Linked DNA regions of Homo sapiens: all the other regions are linked to region 3. Evidence: promoter capture Hi-C in 16 types of primary human blood cells and fetal thymus (Javierre and others, 2016). All regions are on one chromosome and are shown on one strand. The core of a region is centred on a gene start or on the middle of the fragment in contact, and the rest is flanking DNA. Distances in the headings are between cores, read along the strand shown. Region 1 has its middle 110 kb from the start of LINC01894. Region 2 has its middle 260 kb from the start of SS18. Region 3 holds the start of ZNF521 (zinc finger protein 521). Region 4 has its middle 95 kb from the start of LINC01894.

Region 1 (5,427 bases), core at 804-3,303, 480 kb before region 3:
ATGCCACCAAAAGTGATTATAGGTTACAGTGAAGATTAAAATAAGATAGAACCGCATTGAAAAGTCATTTTGACAAAACTCTACTTCTCTCTTCATATTGGTTGGTTGTTCAATCAAAATGAGCAGTTATTTTGGTGTTAAATGAAGAAAGATATTTGCAACTGAGAAAATTACCTGGTATCACATGCTTGTTATAATATTAACTAACTTCTCACCACCTCTCAGAAAATTTAATTAGCATTGACATGAATTGACAAGCTCTCGCCCTAAATCTGCTTCCATTAAAAAATAATTACATTTATTAGTGTTATTGAACACATAGTTTATCCAATACAATCCTTCTGACTTCCTGAAGCTTGTCGGGTACCTGAGCTACTGCAATGGCATGCCTACTCAGCTATCCGTTTCCAAATGTTTCCCATTGTAACCATTCACTACACTGCCTTTGGGGTATGCTTTCCTTCCAAAAGACGGATCCATTCATATCACCTCCTTGCTTCAGAACCTTCTGTGATTCCTGATGTCTAATAGAATAAAGCCTAGATGTGTTATCCTGGCATTCAAGACAATTCATGTTTTGATATCAACCTAACTTTCCTGTCTCAAGTTCTGCCAATCTCAGTGATGCACTCCTGTCACCACTAACTACTTACTGTCCTTTGAGCCCTTTACTGTTCTTGCCCCTCTAGCCACCCATGCTTGTTGACTTGCTTCTTTATGGGAAAGCCCTCTTGTCTCATTTTCTGCTGCTATGTGACCTTACACTTTAAGACCCAGCTAAATTGTTACATTTGGGACATTTTTTCTGACCCTCCCTCTCAAAAGTTAATTGGATATGACCTTAACATGGTGCACATATTTCTGTAGAAGCTCATGTACATATCTCTCTCGAAGCAGGTATTCCTTCTTTGTGTTGCAGTTATGCATTTGTGGACATCTCTCTCTCTCCTTAATTAGAATCACCTTATACATCTCAAGAATAGGGACAATGTTATTCATTTTTATATACTCAGAGCCTATCAGGTTCCTCAGGTTTTCTTCTATAAATAAACATTATATAGTCCAGCATCATTATCCTTACGTCACAAAAGAGGGATCCATGCTCAGAGAGGTTAGCGAACTTGGCTGAGGTCATACAAGTCCTGAACCCTTGGCCACACTTCACAGTGTCAACTGTTCACCATCATGTCTACAGATTTAAGGTTTTCTAGGAGTGCTCCTTTATCATCTGATTGACTTTTTTTCACATAGTACACAATTGTAGGCATTCTGTTAGTTTGTTAGGGCCACCATAACAAAGCACCATAGACAGGATGACTTAATTAAAAGGTATTTATTTCCTCACAGTTCTGGAGGCTGGAAGTCCAAGATCAAAGTGTCCGAAGGTTATTTTTTTTTTCTGAGGCCTCTCTCCTTGGCTTATAGATGTAGATGGTCATTTTCTCCCTGTTTCCCCACATGGTCTTCCTCTTGTGTGTGTCTATGTCCTAATCTCTTCTTTTTATAAGGACACCAGTCACACTGTATTTAGGTCCACCTTAACAACCTCATTTTAACTTAATTATCTCCTTAAAGACTCTGTCTCCAAATACAGTCACATTCTGAGGTACTGGAGATTCAAACTTCAACAGATAAATTTTGGGGGCACGCAATTCAGCCCATAACAGATACCTCATTTATGCCAGGCATCACGGTAAATGCTAAACTGAGCAATCTTTGAGGCTGACCCTACCGATGTTCATAAAGTTGGTAACAAATCACGTACTATCATTTTCATTGACCCTTAAGTATTTATGGTAGGGGAGGGGGCACAATAGAAACTGCAGATACAGTTTTCTTGGAAATTAATTAACTGGAAAAATGATTTTTTCATCTCATTTTCCCTTTGGCACTGTCAGAATCTCCAACCACCCTGGAGTCCTTTGCTCCAGAGAGAGGTCAGAGAAGGTGCCCTGTTCTAATTGTCAGAAACCCCATATTAGAATGTCTTGACTGACAACGCCACAAGTATGCTTACCACCTCAGTATTTATGATTTTCCTTGTAATTCTTGCTCTGACTGCAAATGGTTAATATTGTAAAATCACCAAAGTAAGGGAAACTGCTAAAATTTACAGAGCAAATTAGGAGTGCAGCATGAATTGGAAATCTCTTTCCCTAAGTGCCTGAGTTCTTTCCTTAATGCTGTGAATCATGGAATAAAGGACTTTAGGTAAAAGGCTGGAAAGTTTTCTCTTCCTATAGTCAAAGGGGCCAAGATTTCTCATGCCTTCTGAAGGCAACATATCCTGTAAATGATGACAATACTGGTCACAGCCTTAATGCCCACATAAAAGAGCAATTGTGAGAGAGTCACCTTCCTCCAGTCGTCTCTTTAAGTCCCTTGCGTGTCTCGATCACTTTTAAATCACCACACTCTTTCTTCTCTGCGGCAACGGTGAACCCAGAAGGCCCAAACATCTAAAACATCTTCTCCCCAGGGCTTCTTCTAACTCAATAAGAAAGTTTAAAACTCCTGACAAAGTCTCCTGTCTTTTTCTCCCTTCATGTTCCCTCCAGCGTCTTCCGTTTCTATTTCCCTCTGTGATGTGAAGTATTACAGATTCAGAAATACAATGTTTTGTGAATACTGGAGAACTCAAAGACCAAAGAGGCAATGAGCAAACACACAACACACTATCTGAGACAATAAAGCACTAGACAAGGTTTAGAGGTGTGACCTTGCACAGCTGGGCTCAGGGTGCAAAAATCAGGCATAGGAAAGTTTTACCAGGGGGATCCAGGCATAAATAAGTGTCTTAGTCTATTTTGTGCTGATATTACAGAATACCTGAGAGTGGGTAATGTATAATGAACAGAAATTTATTTCGCTCATGGTTCTGGTGGCTGGAAAGTCCTAGATTGAGGGATTGCATCTGGTGGGGGCCTTCTTGATGCATCATAACATGGTGGAAAGCATCACATGGGCAAGAGAGAGGGGTCCAAACTTGCTTTTATAACACACCTACTCTTACAATAAGGAAGGCAGAGCCCTCAAGACCAAATTCCGTTTTAAAGGTTTTACCTTGCAACATTGTTGCATTGAGGATTAAGTTTCCAGCACAGAACTTTGAGGAGTACATACAAACCATAGCAATAAGTAAGACCTATAGTGTTTTAGAAATGTCCAGCCAATACCTGCATGCTTTACGACTGTCTCCATAGCTTTATTTTCCTTGGACTTTTTCATATACTTACAACTTATATGGAAACCTTCCGTTGCTTAATAAATGTCTCTACTTTATAAAACACTGTATTTCTGAGCCAGCTTTGTCATTTTTAGTTGTTTCGAGAAGTCCTTGACTATCCTTTCCTTTATTCTGCTTTCTCTATTAGTGGGACTACATTTCTTCCCTTCTTGTGGGAATGTCATAATTAGTTACTGGGCCTTCTAGTATCAGGTTAAGAGAAGATAGGGGGAGGGGATAACAATAGAGTTGGTAAACCCAGTGAGGGCTACTGGCAGGAGACTAACCTTCACAGAGTGAGATATATGTGTTTGCTTGTGGATTTTACTATTGAGTTGGTGCAAAAGTAATCAATGGTTTTTGCCATTGAAAGTAATGGCAGAAACCACAATTTTTTTGCACCAACCTAATATTTTGAAAAGTAATCTGGGACTACCAATATGAAACAAGTTTTGTATGAAGGAAACCACAACCCAGTGTTCAGAATCCTCCTAATTTCTTTATCTCCCTTCTTTTCCTGCGTACGAAGCTTTCCACCTCCCTCCACTCAGCTTGAGAAATGTCTGAAGTGGGAATAACTGGAAAGGACCACCTGTGGGAATTTAAAGGATCCAAGAGAAGGCTTAAGCCTTGTCTACTGCCATGTAGGTCAGAGGCAGGAGCAGCTTCAGGAAAGGGCATGGGGATAAGGGGGCAACAGGAGAAACAAAGGGACTGTCTTTGTTGTGCTTTCCTGCCTGGAACGTGTCCACATAGGAATTTCCAGAGAGTCTGGGCCCAGGGCTCCTGCCTGGTACAAAGCGATAGGCTGGCTTGACCAGAGGGAGAACCGCCCACATTTTTACATTTCCTTCCCTGCTCTTCCTCTCCTATCTGGTATGGTATAAATGGAAATCTTGAGTCATAAACTTCTTGTGTCTTCTCTGTAGTTCTGATCCCAGCTGGCTGCAAACCAGATGTTTGATCTTAAATAGGTAGTTTTTACCTCTCAGGGCTCCAGTTTCCTCATTTGTGAAATTGAGCTAACAATACTTACTTTGCAGGTTTGTCGTGAGGATTAAATTGAAAAGCCACAGGAAAGAACCTAAAAGCTTGTCTGGTATGCAGTAGGCACTCACTGTGTGTCTATTGTTGAGGGCAGAGATGGTTTTCCTCTCAATCCCTCCAGGCCACAGCATGTCAGACAGTTCCCTGTACAAAGCAGGTGCTGGACAAATGTTAAATAAAGTAGGTCATAAAGCTGTGCCTTTGAGGAACCATGGAGCTCCACATGTGGGTTTCTCTGTTCCCTGATGCTCTCTCTGCCCGACCCCACACACACCCTTCCCTCAGGCCACTGGGGAACAACAACTTTGAACTTAGCTGTGGTTTCATTACTCTATGCTTCTTCTATGAAGCTATGCTGAAATGCACATCTCCTTCTTTACTCAGTTCCACACACACCCTTTTAAATTCAGCTTGAATGTCCCTTCTTCTGGGAAGCTTTCCCTGACTCCTGCCACCCATTCAGGGTGTCCCTTTTCTGTGCTGCCACAGCACAAATGACACTTCACTGTCCTGGTCAAGGGAATTGTCTTTTTGCCCCATCGGCCCAAGGGCACTCCTTGTGCTCTGCTGAATGAACATCCCCAGGGCTAGAGCCAGGGCCGAAAACAGAGAGAGAACCTTAAAAAGGACCTTTCGTGACCAAATGCAGGGCCAAACGAATGAACGTGACAATGTGGCTCTTTAATAGTGATGGAGTTTGAGTCATAAGCTGAATCACATTTCAGCAGATTGGGCCATCAACACAGCCCAGTGGCCCTGGAGGACAAGAAGTCTGTGGCCACAGGAAGGTGGAGAAGTTTCTGAAAATGCATTCCTCCTCTCCTCACAAACACACACTATGCCAGAGTTATGCAGAAAAAGGAAATGTTCAACATGTTGCAAATGGAAGAAACTAGAGGAAACGATGTTCTCCATTCCACCCAATACTACCTCCCTTAGTACTATTTGTGGGAATAATGGATGTGGCACTGTCAGAGCCAGATGGATGCGTCCCTAAAGGACGTGCAAGCTTGGCTGTGGGTCCGCAAATCCCTCACTGTTGAGAACTACCCAGGGCATACGTTGCTTTGAGGAATCACTGCAAATGGAATGTTATGGACTATTACGATAATCAATTAATAATCAATTAGTTTAGTAATCTTCTCTTGTAGAAA
Region 2 (5,604 bases), core at 1,325-3,824, 480 kb after region 3:
AGAGAGAGTGTGTGTGTGCGCACGTGTGTGTGCTCACCCATGCATGTGATACTCAAAATTACAACTCCTTCGGAGCAAAGATATGACACTAAAAGCAGTGAGAAGCAAACAATAGCTACGGCTATAAATTAAGGAGTTCCTATTTCTGTACTAATCACATAGATTTGTTTTTGCAGACAGCCTGCCTATCAAAGATAGGGATTCTCTGAGTAACATGTTTGCAACAGTCTAGTAAATTTTTCTATTTGAATGTCTCTTCATCACCTAAAGAGTGACAAATCCAAAACCGAACACATCATTGTCTGCTCACAAATATTTTCTCCTCCCAGCCATTCTTCCTGCCTGAGATAGTGACACCCTCTTTTTCTCCATCACTCAGGCTTGAGAACTTGGAGTCATTCTTACCTCATCCTTCACCTTCAACTAGTCATCCCCCTCCAATCCTTTTTGGAAGTAGGTAAAACGTAAATCACATACAAATAAAAACAGTATTTAATCAGCATATAGTCTATGTAAACCTCTCCATCTTTGTTCCCACTTTCACCCCTGGTCAAGGATCTTATCCCAGAAGTATTTATCTGAAGTATTTCCTCAGGAGGCCCCTCCACCCACTGCCTGTCATTTCAGTCCAAACCTTCCATATCTCACTAGCTGGTGAACACAAACACAGCCACATTATCATCCCGTGAGCAAATAGTGTTTCCGAGGGCCTTTTAGGTTTGTCTGAGGTTCAAAGGCAGGAAGTCGAAGTCTCCCAAAGCCCCCCTTCCTCACTTTCTGAGGCCTTGGCTGGCTTAAATATGCCCACACATGGCCCCCAGCCTTCACTCCTGGCCCTACACAGCCCAGGGGCCTGGCAGCTCCTTCCTCTCAAGAGTGAACTACAAAAGCCTGGGTGCAACACCTAGAGGTCCAGAGACTCTGTGAACACAGGGAGGCAGATCTGGCAGAACCTCCTTCCTCCGTGGGTTTCTTCCATGTGGGAGTCCTGAGGCCCTCATCCTTAGCCTGGCTGGCATGTCTAGTTTCCTCTCACTGCCTTTCCTTTCCAAGAGGTGGCAAAGCAGGACTGAGAGCTGACCAGCTGTCCTCTGCAGCTCAGAGACAAAATGAAGTGTGAAACCAAACAAAACCACACTCATCCACAGCAGAGCAAGAGCAACTCAGGCTTGTGTTGTCTGTGTCCATGCAGCAAGCCCAGACTTTTGCTCCCAGCCCTAACAGAGAGAAAAGGAAAGAAGTGGGGGTGGGAGGGGGTGGGATCAGCAGTGCCCAGATGCACAGTTCTGTCTACACACAAAAAATCATATTCCCAAATGAAGCTTTACCTCTTCATTTGTTTCTTCTTGCAACAAGTGTTTTTTGAGCACCTACTATGTGCCAAGCATGGGACAGACTGACAGAAGCCTGCTGGAGCAGAAGCTCTGGTGTGGAAAATAGACAGTTTTTAAAAATCAAGAAAAATAAGCAAGGTTGTTTCAGGTAGTGATGAGTCAGAGAGGAAATGAAGCAAGGTGCTGGGATGGAGAGCGCAGGGCCTGCTTAGGTAAGGCAGTCCTGAAGGCCCGTCTCAGTGGTGACATTGGGGCTGAGCATCAGCTGAACGGAGAAGAGGCTGCCCAGACTGTGCTCCAAGTCAGTGGCAAGCTGACAGTTTTCCCCAATAAAATTGGGTGGACACATAGCCTCGCATTTGTATTAGTTTGCTAGGGACGCCATAACAAAGTAATACTAATAGTTGCTTAAAAGACACAAATGTGTTTTCGCCCAGTTTTGGAGGCCAGAAATCCAAAATCAAGGTGTCAGTAGGGCCCTGCTCTCTCTGAAGACACTGGGGAAGGATCTGCTCTCGCCTCTCTTCCAGCTCTGACAGTTTCTTGGCTTAGAACAACATAACTCCAGTGTCCACATGGCATTCTCCCTGTGTGCATGTCTGTGTCCCAATTTCCCCCGTTTATAAGGACACCAGTCATATTGGATTAGGGGCCACCCTGTTGTAGTATGACTCACCTGAACTAACTGTATCTGCAACAACTCGATTTCCAAATAAGGTCACATTCTGCAGTACAGGGGAGGGAGAAGTGTGGATTTCAACAAATAAATCTCAGGGGATGCAATTCAACCCCTAACAACATTTCTGTAATAAAGGGGTCCATCCAGGATGGGTGGAGGACCAGCTTTACCCACAATGATCCAACCTGCTCGTTCAGAGAAGGCTGAGCTTTCCACTCTGTCTCCCCCACATCACAGAGCACAGCACATAATAAATGAATGAATACTTGTTGATGGTTGATTAATGATACATTTTACTCTAAAATTTAAAAAGCTTGTGTTATCATGTTGAGATAGTTTGGGATTTGTTTGTGTGCCAGCAACAGTTCCCGTGCTTAGTAGCTAGGAAAGGTTTAAATCATTTTTGGGTCTGATATGATTAGTTAACTGTTCCCAGAGACCATGTGGAAAAAAATAGCTGGCATCCAACGCTGACCCAGCCCCCTTTGTCTCCCTCCTGGGTCCCAGAGGCAGCAGAGCTGATGAGCTCAGACGAGGTTGGCAGAGGTCACATTTGTTGAAGATCCGCGAAGAGATACCGGTGAAAGTGCGGCAGCAGAATGCAGCCATCCAGGCCTCCAGGCAGCTCAGCCCCCTCGCCCAGCCTGGGGACACACAGCTGCCCGCTCCAACCTCAGAGGGGCAAATTCCCCGACATCAGAGAAGCCGCCCTGGGCCACTAAACGGAAACCTGGCTAGCGAGGAAGCAGCTGGTCTTGGCAAACAAAAAATAATGCCCCAGGCAAAAACAAAGTAAAAGGGAGCCTGGAAAAGCTTCATTCTGAGGAGCCACTCCCTCCCTAACCCAATTTTTAAATCCAATATAAAATTCTAAGGCTATTCAGAAAACACCGTGGCAAATTCCTTCAGTCTAAATTCTCTGTGATGAGAAATTCCTAGAAGGCTTTTCCTTTCCTTTCAAAACACTGGACAATTTTCTCCAACAGTATATCTCACATTGTGGCCAGCCATCTTGTTATCTGTTACTCTTTTTGAATGTAACACAGAGAACCACAAGATCTTGTGGAATTTCATTTCTGTGTTACATAGCATTGCATTTTGAAGTAGTGTTTATTGTTTTCCTTTTATTTTTATCTCATGAAATAAACTATTCATGACAAGCTACTTTTCATTGTTAAAATTATATTTATGTATGCACATATAAATATAGCAATCTCTTATGAAATATATGTTTAATTGATTTATTAGTTTCCCACTGTGCTTAAGAACTCATGAACCTGAAATTAGCTGTGCATAATGGTTCTTCTGATAAGAACAGCGACTCTGCAGATACAAATGAAACAAAGCAAGGTGAAATTTTCAGAGAAAGATCTAGTCAAGCTGTTTAGAGGTCTAAAGCACACATTTTGTCATTCTTACTGATGACAATAATAATAGCTGAAATTGATTATTGAGTACATACTATGTGATAGGCAGTGTGCTATGCCTTTTGTACCTACCTTAATTTAAATCCTTTCAACTCCATTGACAATGATTGCTTAGAATCACTATGTGATTTAACCATCATCACAGCTAGTAATTGGGAAGAGTTGGGATTCAGACCCTAGCTCATCTAACTCTAAACCCCAGGCTTAGTTCAATATACTACATGGATTAAAATAGGGACAAACACCATTAAAACATTAATCAAAGCTTGAAAGCTATAGGCAAATATCACTGGTATATTCTTTTAGAAAGTTGATTTATAACAATAACGCTGTAAAAAAAAGATAGGCAAATTCCAAAGGGTAAACTGAGGCATGTGGCTTTTTAGAACTTACTTTGAAATACAACTGTGGATATATGAAATATCATTTTCACTCTTTTGAAGGTAAGTTCTGGAAGCACTGGAGACTTATAATGATAAAAATTACATGATAACCTTTTATGCAACAGGCTTATTGAACACAACATTAGGTGAGTGATGCTATTCTAACAAGAACTAGTCATGCTGGGCTAAATTTTCCAAGAATGCAATTTAAGCCCACAGTAAGGTGTATTATAAAATGAATGGGATACCGTGGTTCAAACACAGCCCTCCGAATGGTCCATCTGTGGACCTTATCTCACCAATTCTCATTAAACAGTGATTTCATTTCTCTCCATCATCACAAGCTCCACTCCTGGGCAGTGTTCAGCTGCCTGGCTGGTCTCACGACACATGCAAATATGAATTAAAGGCGACCGCACCACAAGACTGAGGAGAGTTCAGTAATACCCTTCCCAGTGTGAAGCACAGGGCCCCAGCCATCACAGATGGGAAAAAGAAATTGGTGGTCCCAGCAGGCCCTCTTTTTATTACCCCCTGAGGCCTCATTTGGAGCATGACTGTCACACACATGCACATGCGCACACACACACACGCACATATACACATGTACATACACATATCTAAACCACTCTACCTCCTCTTTCCATCCCAAGCACCTGTAAGGTTAAAGATGTGTTTGGACTCTACAAAAATAAAATCCCAAACCTTTACAGATACCTTGTCACAGACTCTCACTGCTCCTCGGTGATACTTGTAAAAGGAGTTATGTTTTCCTTATTATCTATATGGGGAAAGTGGAGTGTGAAATGTAAACATCTGTTTAGAGCTAGAAGGAGAGTCAAAGCCAGAATACGGGAGTGGAATTCTTCTGTCCTCTGACCTCCTACAACATGGAGTTTTTGTAACTTTCCTACAGCCCTCATTCTTTATCACAACATGATAAAGTTTCTTGTACATTCGTCTTTTCTCCCTTATGGTACAATAAGCCCTTCAGGGTGGAGAACTATTTCTGGTTCTCACCATATCTAGCAAGGTGCTCTCCAAGATTAACTGTGCAAACTCCACATACGTTTATGGATTGTAACAAGAGGGCAAACAAGATACTAACAGTTCTTGTTAGCTGGATGGAGTGGGGGAGCACTGGCAATTGTGGCAATGGTTGAGCATTAATGGGTTTCCTTTACGATATACACATTTTCCACCAAATCTTCTCACTGCTGGTCACCATGAACGGAAGACAGAAAGCACATGAGTGAAAGAGAGAAAATATACACCATGGTGATTTCTAAAGCAGCTAGTGAAGGCTGAAGTAAGGGTGAGTGTGCAAGATAGCCATTGGAAGTACTCACCCATTCAGTTCTGGGTGCCCTGTAGCCCTACCAACCAATTACAAAATATATATATTTTATATATATATTTTTTAATATATTATATATTTTATATATATTATATATTTTATATTTTATATATTTTTATATATATTATATATATATTCAGCTTGAAGGAAATCTCCTGCAAGTCACGTGTCTACTGGCTGAGATTAGTCTGACTGTGGCCCAGACAGAGGTCCAAACCAGTCCTGAACTACACAAGGCACAGCCTAGGGCTACCCATGCTTCTCATTCTGTTAAAGACCTGGACTGCAAGTCTCAAAGGCCAGCCATGTAGTGAGTCATCTGCACTTTCCAGCCCAGCCAAGCCTTGGATGGCCAGAGCCTGAGCCAAGATTACAGGCAGCAAAACTGCCCAGAGCTCTAACAATCCACAGAATCCTAATAATA
Region 3 (5,500 bases), core at 867-3,366:
GAGGCCGCCACGTGACTCTCCTCGCCACATTCCAACACAGCCATCAGATCGATAACTTCAGGGACCCCCGCCCCCGCCGCAGCCAGCTAGTGCGCCCCCAAAATCCCGCACGCACGCCCCGCAACTTCCCTCTCCAACAGGGACGACGGAGAGCTGGACCCCACCGCGAAACGCAAAGGACTCCAGGGGCGGCGGGGAGAAGTAGGGGCGAGGGGCGGTCAACTTCTGGGAATGGCCAAGAGGGGTGCTCTGAGGCCCGAGCCGGGGTCCGGTGCCCGCGGCCGGCGGCCGGGGTCTGTTTACTCCGGCGACGTGCGGAGAGGACCCAAGCAGGACGCGGGCGGGCGGGAGGCGGCGGCCGGGACCCCGGGCCACGTTTGTCACGAGCGGGGGCTGCTCCCCACCTCCGAGATGACTTTTTTCTTCTTCCAAAGAAAAGGAAAAAAGAAGCACCGCACGGTTTTGCATATTTATTCTTTGCGAAAACACACAACAGAAACTTTTTCCTCCAGCCCAGATGTAGATCTCAGACGGGATATTTTTTTTTCCTCCCTCTCCGGATAATTTCGTTTCTTTCTCTCTCTCTCTCTTTTTTTTTTTCGGTTGTTGTTGTCTTTTCTCGCCCACTTTCTACCGCCGCCCCATTCGGGGATCCTCCTCCCGTCTTCGTCTCCCCCCACCCCGACACCTCACCCTCACTCCACCTAGGGGCTCAGCGGGGAGGGGAGCGCGCGCGCCCCCGCACTCACACTCACACTCACGCGCGCACACGCCTCGCAGCCACGCAGCCCTCGCTCCGCTACCCACAGTGACACTCGCGGATGGGGGAAAGCGGGGAGCAGGGGGTTCCTCCTTACCTTTGAGGGATCTCGGTTTCGCTTGCTTGCGGCGAGACATCCTAAAAGCAAACAGCTGAAGTTGTTTCAATTCAGCCCTGAAAGAAACTATACTTCCTCGTGGCCGCGCGCCCCTCGGGCCGCGGCGCCTCGCGCCCTCCGCTCGGCCTCCCTCGCGCCCTCGCTCCGCGCTCCGCTCCTCGCTCCGGCTCCGGCTCGCGCTCGCGCGCGGGGCTCGCGGCTGCCCGAGCTCCGCGCTCTGCACGACGGCGGCGGCGGCGGCGGCGGCTGCTGCACCAAACTTTCCCAGCCTTCGACCCCCACCCCCAATCTCCAAGAAAAAAAAAAAAAAAGGAAAAAGAAAAAAGGAAAGGAGGGAAAAAAAGCTAAAAAAAAAACCCCAAAGACAATGTTTGAAGAGCCGTCAGCTACACTAAAAAGAGAAAATCCGTTACTATTTCCACCTCAATCAAAATTCACATAGTTCATGCGAATAGAAAAAAACTAATAAAAAGAAAAGCGTCTGGGTGATTTTTTTTTTCTTTACCGCTTTTCCTTTTCAACAAATCCGCCCCCCCCCCCACCGGAAAAAAACAAATAACACTGATTTGTTTACAAAGCGAGTCGTGCTCTTTTGTAGTTGGGGGGACGAGGGGGGGAAATCGACCCTGCAAGGCGATGAAAAGGTCTTGGAAAGAAAAATCTCCCACCATCCGAGGCAGATGCGAACGGGCCACGAAAATAAGCAAAGGGAAAAAAATACTTTTTTTCTCCCTTCCCCCCACCCTTTTTTTCTTAACCCACACTAAAGTAATTTCTTTCAAAAAGAAAAAGCCAAAGCACCCGAGCCGACGGCCCCCAGGTGGTGTGCGGGGCTGCTTGTGTGCAGGGGGTGTGCGGGGCCCGGGCTCGGGGCGCCCCTCTCTGGGCGGGGGCGCGGCGCCGGCGGCTGGCGCTGGACCGGGGCTCTAAAGTCTACGGCTGCCTCGGCAGCGGCGGCGGCAGCAGCGGCGGCAGCGGCGGCGGCAGCGGCGGCGAGAGCAGGAGGAGGAGGAGGAGGAGAGCCGGGAGCAGGAGGAGGAGAAGGAGTGTGCTGTGTGCTCCCTCCTCATCACAAACCTGCAAGGTCTTGGACTGCGCTGTCGCTCCGGTAGTCCACATAATAATGGAAAATGGAAGCAAGGCCCCCAAAGCCATCAGGATGGCTCCAGAGGGGGCCCCTAACCCGCAGGGACTCGCTCTGTACGTAATCACTGAGGAAATCATTGTCAGCCTGCCTGCACTCACACACAGACAGAGGGGCATGATTAAAAGGCGAGAGCGCGGGGAGCGGGAGGGAGGAGGGGGCCCGCCAAGACCCGGACTGGAGGCGCCGGCCGCGGCGCGCGGATCCGGAGCCAGGCGGCGGCCGAGCGCCCCGAGCCCCGCCCGCCGCCGCCGCCGCCGCCGCCGCCTCCCACGCGCCGCGCGCCCCGCCCGCTCCTGCGCCGCCGCCCCTCGCGCCGCCCGCCCGGCCGCTCGCACACCCCGCGCCGCCGCCGTCGCCGCCGCCGCAGCTGCGTTATTAGAGCTCCACGGCGGATCTCGGGGCTCTTCTGCTCGCTTTTTTTCCTCTTCAGAAATTAAAGCAGAGGAGCATCTGAAAGTGGAAAGGTCCCCCTTCTGGTAGGATGGATGTAAAAGGAGGCAACAATTTGTTCTTGAGGGGGCAAAAAAAAAAAAAAAAAAAAAGAAAAAGAAAAAGAAAAAGAAAGGAGGGGGGAAATTCATTGCTTGGCTTTTGCATTGTCGGACTTTAAAAAAGTGTGTCTGCTGTTGTTGCCCGGACTCGGGAAATCTTTTTTATGGCAACCGCAGACCTGCCAAGTCTCTCTTACTTGGAATCTTTATAAAGGCAAGTTATTTGGACTTTTTTTTTATTTTCTCGTTTAGAGAAAGTCATTGATGCTGACGAATGTCATAATGTGATTCAAAAGAGACAGCTTTGAGTTCACTTTTTTAACATTCTCAAATTGACATAGATCTTTGTCCAGAAAATAAAGCTTTCTGTTGATTTTTTCTTTAAGCAAGAGGTAAGGAAATATGCACTTAAGAATATGTGTACAAGAAAATAGTTTCTAAAATAAATTGAAATGTCTGCAGGTCGGTGGGAATTTTTGTTTCTTTTCGCAGTTTTGTTTTCTAACTTTTCACCTGCTCCCATCGCAAAACAAGAAACCATCACCTGTTTCCTTCTTTTACCTTATCTTAAGGGAAAGGATGTTTTAGTATTATTATTGTTGTTGCTATTTATTGATTGGACACGCTTGTCAAGTTATAAATGCCTGAGAGGGCTACCAAGTAGAGCTTAGATTCACAAGTCTTGGTGGAAATTAAGAGATTCAGAATACGGTTAATTACACAAAACAGGCAGAATTTTGTACAAATACTATTGTTCTTAATCAGATTTTAAAAATTCTCCGTTCTGTAAAATTAAGGTACAGCTATCTATTAAGCCACCATGCAAAGACATCAAAGCTTTAAGGAAGTTGTATTTTTTCCAGTCTAACCTGTAAACTGCCTGGACCCTCATGTGGATAGCTGCAAATACAGTATGTTTTTTTTCAATATCTTCATTATAATTAAATGAGTTTTCAATCCATCTGCAGTAATTCCTAAAGTGAAATCATAGTTGTAGTCAAATTTAACTTTGCATGACTGTGAAATAAAGCAACTTTTGTTGCAGAATCTGTGTTGGTACATTAAGGATTCTAGATTTTATACATAACCTTATACATTCATTTTCACAGAAATCATTCAGAAAGGGAAAAATGTGTAAACACCAAGTTTTTACAAGACTTTCCTTTCGTGTGGTAGCCATATGTGTGCAGAATACTATGGTGCCATGTATGTGTGGTCCCAAGTTATGTGTGATATTATCTAAAATATTGATGGCATCTAATCCTGGTTTTATTGGAAAGTGAAAAATTGCTAACGTAATACTAACGCGTACCCTAATTTGTTAAAGTTTTCTATATGGGTTGATTTTTTTTGTTTCTTTCTCAAAGTAGTCTACTTTGCTTTACTCTAAAATTGTTCTTTCATTTCCCAATGTTAGTATTTCTGTTGCCTTCCTCTATTAAGAGATAAATAAAACCCTTAGCTCAGAGATTTAGATCTGGCTCAAGAGCCTGATATTTCAGTTTGGGATAGTACTGCATAGCATTTTAAGGGAGGTTAAAGCACCAACCACCCAAAAGACAAACATAAAAACTATTTTAACCTAAATCTGTCAAATATTGACCTATACAGATAGGTAAAATGCTTTTGAAACGTATCTTTAAATACTTTAATTTCCTCCCCCCAAGTTACCAAGGGGGGGAAGATCATTGATTATGTTTCTAAACATAAACCCCAACATCCACCCATGAAGCCAAAGCCATCATCTCTGAGCAGAATGCAGCAACTTTGTGAATATTTGGATGCTGTTGTTGATGATGGGGTAATAATGCATAAAGAACCATGTGCAAGGAATTTTACTAAAGACAAGACAAATATTTTCTTAGGTCTCATTAAGGGGTCTTGAAGTCCAAGATAAAACATCACCCATTCTACCTTTTGGAGGGACAGATCTGGTAGGCAAAACTCCCACTGATTTCAGCATCCCTTACCACCGTATTCCATGTGAATTAATCAATTATGTGGAATTGGTGAGCACTTGGATTTCATTAAACACTGCTGAGTAGCCTCGCAATTACTTTCCATGCTTCGTATATAAACAGACACCAAAAATGTAAACTGTCCAATTCACCTGATAGAGGCTACACAGATGCTAAAGAAGGAAAACTAAGATTTGTCTTTCTTTGGACGATGCGAAAAAGCATAATTAGCCACTGCAGAAAGGTAAACATGCCTAACTGATAAACATTTTTTCATGCTTAACAAAATTCATTTTGGGAATAGTAAACTACTATATATTCAGTTATTTATCCCCCAACTTTTAAATGTATTATTCTCATTCTTAAAACTGGAAACCAGCTACAATGAGAACGTCATTCATTTTCATTCAACAGTTTTTTGAACATCATCATCCAACAAATTGTGCTGTCCTCCAAATAACCTATTTAACATCTCCTGAATAACCAGCAAAAACATATAAAGCTTATAAATTTTAGGTATTATTTACAAATAACCTGAATAGTAGTATAAAGTTTAAAATGAGACAGACCCTTCATTACCGAGTTCTATTAAGAACTTAAGTAGCTACATAATTAAACTTTCCATTTCGTATTAACATATGATTGATTTAACTTCTGGCTCTTTTCATGCATTGACTCCACAGCACCTACTTTTAAGATATTTTGCACTTTTCAGAATGTCTTGCATTGGTGAAACAAACAATATCTGGAACTGAGACTCTTACTTGAAAAAAAGATTAACGTTTTTTCAACTGTTAATTCCAACAATAAAGATATTGCTAAAGGAGGGATTAATGTTAAAGGAAACCTGTGTCCATGAAACTTGACCTCAAAGGAATTAATTACAGAAAACACATTAGGTACCAGTTCAAGTAAATCTCCAATTTTAAAATGTCAGTTGCAAAGCATAAATTGTCTTTGATAAGTTATAAGTAATAGTGTCAAAGTTGCAATCTGGCATCTAAACCAATTACAAAGAGAATACTC
Region 4 (5,046 bases), core at 389-2,888, 460 kb before region 3:
AGTGCAGGACAAAGAATTGACTTTAGGTAAGAGGATGAACAGCTCCTCTATCATAAAAAGAGAGAAGCAAAGCTTACTTGTAGATTTGTAGATCAGAAGCCAGTGCATTCTTATTGGACGGCCTCTGCTCTCTGTGAAGTGGGTGAGGTCATATGCCGAAAGTGAAGGGTGAGCAGGGAGTGGGGATGAGAGAGCATAGAGATGACTTGTACAGCCATAGAAAGTAAGAGATTGAGTTGACCAAATCATGTGTATGGATTGTTGGACAGGACTGATGGCCCATTTGAGTTGGGTGATCTTGAACTTAGGGTGAAATAGTAATAATTCCTCGAACAATTAAGCATAGCTTTTTTTGTTTGTTTTGTTTTGTTTGAGACGGAGTCTCATTCTGTCGCCAGGCTGGAGTGCAGTGGTGTGATCTGGGCTCACGCACACTGTAACCTCCACCTCCCGGGTTCAAGTGATTCTCCAGCCTCAGTCTCCCAAATAGCTGGGACTGCAGGCATGCGCCACCACACCCGGCTAATTTTTGTATTTTTTGTAGACACATGATTTCACCATTTTGGCCAGGCTAGTCTCAAACTCCTGACCTCAAGTGATCCTCCCGCCTCAGCCTCCCAAAATGCTGGGATTACAGGCATGAGTCACTGCTCCCAGACAAGCATAGCTACTTTTTAAATGTATGTCTAAAAACTCTATTGCCTACAGGTTTGTTTATATTGCCTTTAAGATAAAATCTTGGTTGTTGGTCAAGTCTTGTCTCCTCATATGCCTAGTATTTTTGGTTGTGTGTCCAGTTGTTTTTTATTTTAACAATGAACATTTATTATCTCACAGTTTCTGTTAGGAGCAGAGTTGAAGTGCAGTTTAGCTGGATGGTTCTTGTTAGGCTCTCCCTTGGGCTTGGACTCCGGTATCAGCCCGAATTTCACCACCTGAAGGCTTGACTGAAGCTGCAGGAGTTAGTTCACTCCTCTGGCCATTGGTAGAAGGCCAAGGCCTCAGTTTCTCCGTACATGGATTCTCCATAGGGCTTGCAATTTCTCTGACATGCAGCTGACTTCCCCAGTATGCGTGATGTAACAGAGCAAGAGAGAAGTGAGCGCTCAGTTACTTTTGATTAAATGTTTGCCATTGCTACTGGCAGGTGCTGGGTTGAGGGGCTAGCAAGTCCCAGGAATTGAGAGATAAGAAACTTTGGTCCCTGTGAGGGCTCCTATATTTCCAGTTCACTTTTCCTTCTTTGGTGTGGTCTTGGGGTCCCAACTAATATCCTGGGGTGTTTTCCAGGACACCTCCTTCTCGACAGAGCTTGAACCCCTATTTCAGACTCCCCAGAGCCTCAAGACTATCAAAATCCCTGCCCAGCTTCTCAGGGTCTCAGCTGTGCCTTCAGAATTTCAGGTGCCTGTAGCTTGCTGATCTCAAACCTTAGGGTCATCACAATCCACTCAAGGGTTTGTTAAAGCATAGCTTGCTGGGTCTCGCCCAGAGGTTCTGATTCAGTAGATCTGGGGTGGAACCTGAGGCTCTGCATTTCTAACAAGTTCCCAGGTGCTGCTGCCTGCTTTGTGTCCACTTTCTGAGAACTACTGTCCCGGGGAAAAAGCAGTCTTAAGTGGGCTTCCCTCTTCTCTGGGATCTTGGCAGTGTGATTTCTCACTGCCTTGGTGACTTTCTAATGTCCTCAACCCAGTGTTTCTTTTCATATATTATCGTGTGGTCAGAGAGAGTTGATTTGAACCACCTACTTTGCTGTTGCCAGAAGAAAAACTTCCAAACTAATAATGATAGCTAATACTTAGTGAGAAGGTATTCCATGTCAGACTGTGGCTGGTGTGGCTGGCATGGCTGTTGAGTTGCATAACTCCAGGGGGCATTATTCAGACTGTGTTCATTTATTTATTTTTGAGACGGGGTCTCACTCCAACACCCAGGCTGGAGCACAGTGGTGTGATCATGGCTCACTGCAGCCTCAATCTCTTGGCCTCAAGCGATCCTCTTACCTCTAGCCTCCTGAGTAGCTGGTACTACAGGCACAGGCCACCACACTGGCTAATTTATTTATTTATTTATTTTTTTTTTTGTAGAGATGGGGTTTCATAATGTTGCTCAAACTCCTGGGCTCAATTGATCCACCTGCTTTAGCCTCCCAAAGTACTGGGATTACAGGCGTGAGCCACCCTGCCCAGTCAACTTTGTGTGTGGTATGAATGTGCAGCTGCCTGGAGTTGTGTGGAGCAGTAGCCCTGTGGAGCTGGGCACTGTGTAGTGATCTTTATATGTGTTGTCTCATTCACTCTTACAAAATTCCTATTGATATGATTGTCCTTATTTATAGATGAGGAAATAGAAACAACGCATAACTTTCCTAAGGTGACAGGGTTTGTACATGACAGCACTTAGAGGTAAACCAGGTTTGTCTCATTACTAGGACTCTCTTGATTTGTGGAAACAAAGTTTGCATTAAGCCTTTGACCTTCCCAGATTCCCTATCTGTAAAATGGGCACAATAGTATTTATTCTCAACCTCATAGTCTGGGTAGAATGACTTAACAAAGCAGTGGACTTAAACTCTTGAGAGTTTTTTGGGATAAGATAATTAGCTTGCATTATCACAGTTCTGTTCAGGAAAGTGGTTTTCTTACGAAGGTATAAACACCCCCAGTTGTTAAGCAAGCAAATGAAGACAATCAATGGAGCAGAGCTAAGGCCAAGGCAGGTGTTTCAAATAGCACTGCAGAGTGACAGTAAGTGGCATCCACCTTTCCAATGGTACCATGCTTTAAAAAGCAACAGCTTTAAAAAGTAACAGCTTCATCTATTGAGTCGTGTAAGACCAAGTTTCTCCTCTACTAGTTTTTCTCTTTCCCTTAAGGAAATCAGGTATTCATGTCTTCTTTCATTTACTCTCTTCCCTCAGTGACTAACTACAAAAGTGTTAATTTAAAAAGTTAGGATTTTGAGGGCTTCTAGACCCTTTAGGCATTAATATTGCAACCTAAAACTGTTTACCTAGAGGTCACAGGTTCAAGTCCAGGCTGGGTCAGTAGTGACCGAAAGTCTAATGACTGGTCATCTGTTGGCTATTTTATGGTTTATGTGAAATGAAGCGATGGTCTCAGCTCACTGGCCAGTCCACATCAGAACAGGCATTGCCAGACATTGGTTGGCATTTTCAGCACAGAGGCCAAGAATTCAACTGGAAGCTTTATCCCTGAGGTTGCCTTCTGTAGAACATAGGCATGGGGCAAGGGAGGAAGGTCACAGTCAATTGGGAAAGAAGAGAGCCATTGTCTTATCTTTCTACCTTCTTGACAAAAAGAAGATACCTCTTTTCAGACCCATGAAAGAAGTTGACTTCCTGATTTGTCATTCACTTTTGCAATTTCACTCAGCAGAAGAGAAAAGACGATTTCCAGCAGTAAACGATGCAGGCAGTGTCATGCAGAGGAAACCACTGTTGTTTTCTGGGCTAAAGAGAGCCAGACCGGAGAACAGACAGGAAGGGGAGCAGGACAGAGGAGAATGGGCATGATTATATGTAAAGGTAGAGGCCTCTGTTTCTTCTTCGTACACATAAGCAATCATGTGAGCCTGGAAGACCCAGAGAAGCAAGTGGTAGAATGGCCTGTGCTTTCTCTTTTGCCTATTTCCCTCCCAGCTTGTTCCATGCTCCCTGCAGAAAGGCAGGATCTCAGACCCACTTCTCTTGTTATCTCTCATGGGGTCAGTGTCAAGGACAGACGTGAACACTGTCAATGCCCCAACTACTACCCACCACTGAGGTGTGTCTAGGCATCTCTGGATCTAGGCATTTCCCGACTTGTTTTGACTCAGGAAACAGACAAAATCATTTTATTTTTTCCCTAAAAGGGGGAAGTTGAATTTTAAGAATTTTTTTTTCAGTTGCTCCCATTGTCCTTATTACTAAAGTCCTTGCCTGAATCCAAGGGCCTTCCCTGACTTTTGTCTGAGGCTTGAATCTTTATGACACTGTCAATAGAATGGAATATGGTGAGATGCAAATTGCAGTGGATCAAGATGTGAATGAAGTTGAGAAGGTTGAAGCAAAGAGTATGGACTCTTCTTTCCTGAAATCTGGTGGTGGTGAAAGAGACAGATAGAGCCTGGGCAGGGAGTTTGCAGGGAACTTTGTTAGAATGAAGAAGGAATTTTGCATGCATCTGTAGTCTGAGAAGATGAAGATCTTCTCAGATGAAGCAGGTGAAGAGAGGGAGAAGGAAAATGCACAGGGAGAAAGGGGGCAATAATTTCTAGACAAATGCCAGAGAAGGAACAAAAGGAAAGGAGGAACTGTGTAGAAGAAGGAGATGGTCCTGAAGAAGAGACGATGAGGAGGGAAGAAAGGGTTCTGTTATGGATGCATTTCAGGCATGGAGTGGCAAGTCACTGGGCTCTTCATCAATAATGAGCTCTATTTTGTTTGTGAGGTGGAAGGCAAGGCTCTTCATTGAGAGGTGGCTGGGAGCCTGAGGAATGTGCTAAAGATTTGTGGGAAAAGGGAAAGGAAGCCACGAGGGAACAGAAGTGAAGGGCTGCTGGCAGGGCTGGGCTCAGATGGATTTACATCCTCTATCTGTATATTAGTGTTATCTTTAAAAGTCGTCTGCCATATCCTGGCTTTCAGTCATGCAGAGGATCACTGCTTTATATTACACAAGGAGGCTTGGCATGAGGAGAAAAAACAGACTGCAAAATGTCACCCAATCTAAACATGGAATGGGGAGAAAACCACAACAAATGGGGCTGTCAAAAAAGTTTTCAAAGAACTTTACAAAAAAAAACCTTTTCTTTTATTTAAGTCAAAACAGCAAGGAAAATAATATTCTGGTGTTCAAGCTCTATTCTCTCTGTTGGGGGTGACGCTTGAAGAAAAAGAAAAGTGTATTCTGCGGTTAGTGATATTTTAATTGGTCACAATATGAAGTAAAAGTTCAAAACTAAATACTAGAAATATGTCCCCTCTGGAACATTCAATTAAAATCTGTGGGGGGAAAAAGCCTCAAAATGACAGCCAGAGAA

Evidence for each region. The method cuts DNA at HindIII sites, captures the fragments that hold promoters and counts their contacts. A CHiCAGO score of 5 or more calls a contact.
Region 1: a fragment that was not itself captured here is called in contact with the fragment with the promoter of ZNF521 in region 3 in 1 of 17 cell types (endothelial precursors); the score reaches 5.1 in endothelial precursors.
Region 2: a fragment that was not itself captured here is called in contact with the fragment with the promoter of ZNF521 in region 3 in 1 of 17 cell types (endothelial precursors); the score reaches 5.5 in endothelial precursors.
Region 4: a contact is called between a fragment that was not itself captured here and the fragment with the promoter of ZNF521 in region 3, in 1 of 17 cell types (total B cells). The highest score is 5.6, in total B cells.

Annotation. Positions count from the first base shown.
Region 1 is chr18:24,871,444-24,876,870 of GRCh38, forward strand. No RefSeq gene overlaps it. Among named protein-coding and RNA genes, the nearest start is that of LINC01894, 110 kb to the right of the region's middle. The HindIII fragment of the contact is 3,400 bases long and covers 354-3,753 here.
Region 2 is chr18:25,825,487-25,831,090 of GRCh38, forward strand. No RefSeq gene overlaps it. Among named protein-coding and RNA genes, the nearest start is that of SS18, 260 kb to the right of the region's middle. RefSeq lists enhancers at 2,111-2,612, 2,613-3,112. The HindIII fragment of the contact is 500 bases long and covers 2,325-2,824 here.
Region 3 is chr18:25,350,050-25,355,549 of GRCh38, forward strand. ZNF521 (zinc finger protein 521) reads right to left here and starts at 2,117. Exons shown (of 8, transcript NM_015461.3): 1 at 1,956-2,117; 2 at 858-898. The coding sequence starts at 897. RefSeq lists a silencer at 2,143-2,212. The HindIII fragment of the contact is 3,815 bases long and covers 1-2,876 here.
Region 4 is chr18:24,890,448-24,895,493 of GRCh38, forward strand. No RefSeq gene overlaps it. Among named protein-coding and RNA genes, the nearest start is that of LINC01894, 95 kb to the right of the region's middle. The HindIII fragment of the contact is 3,137 bases long and covers 71-3,207 here.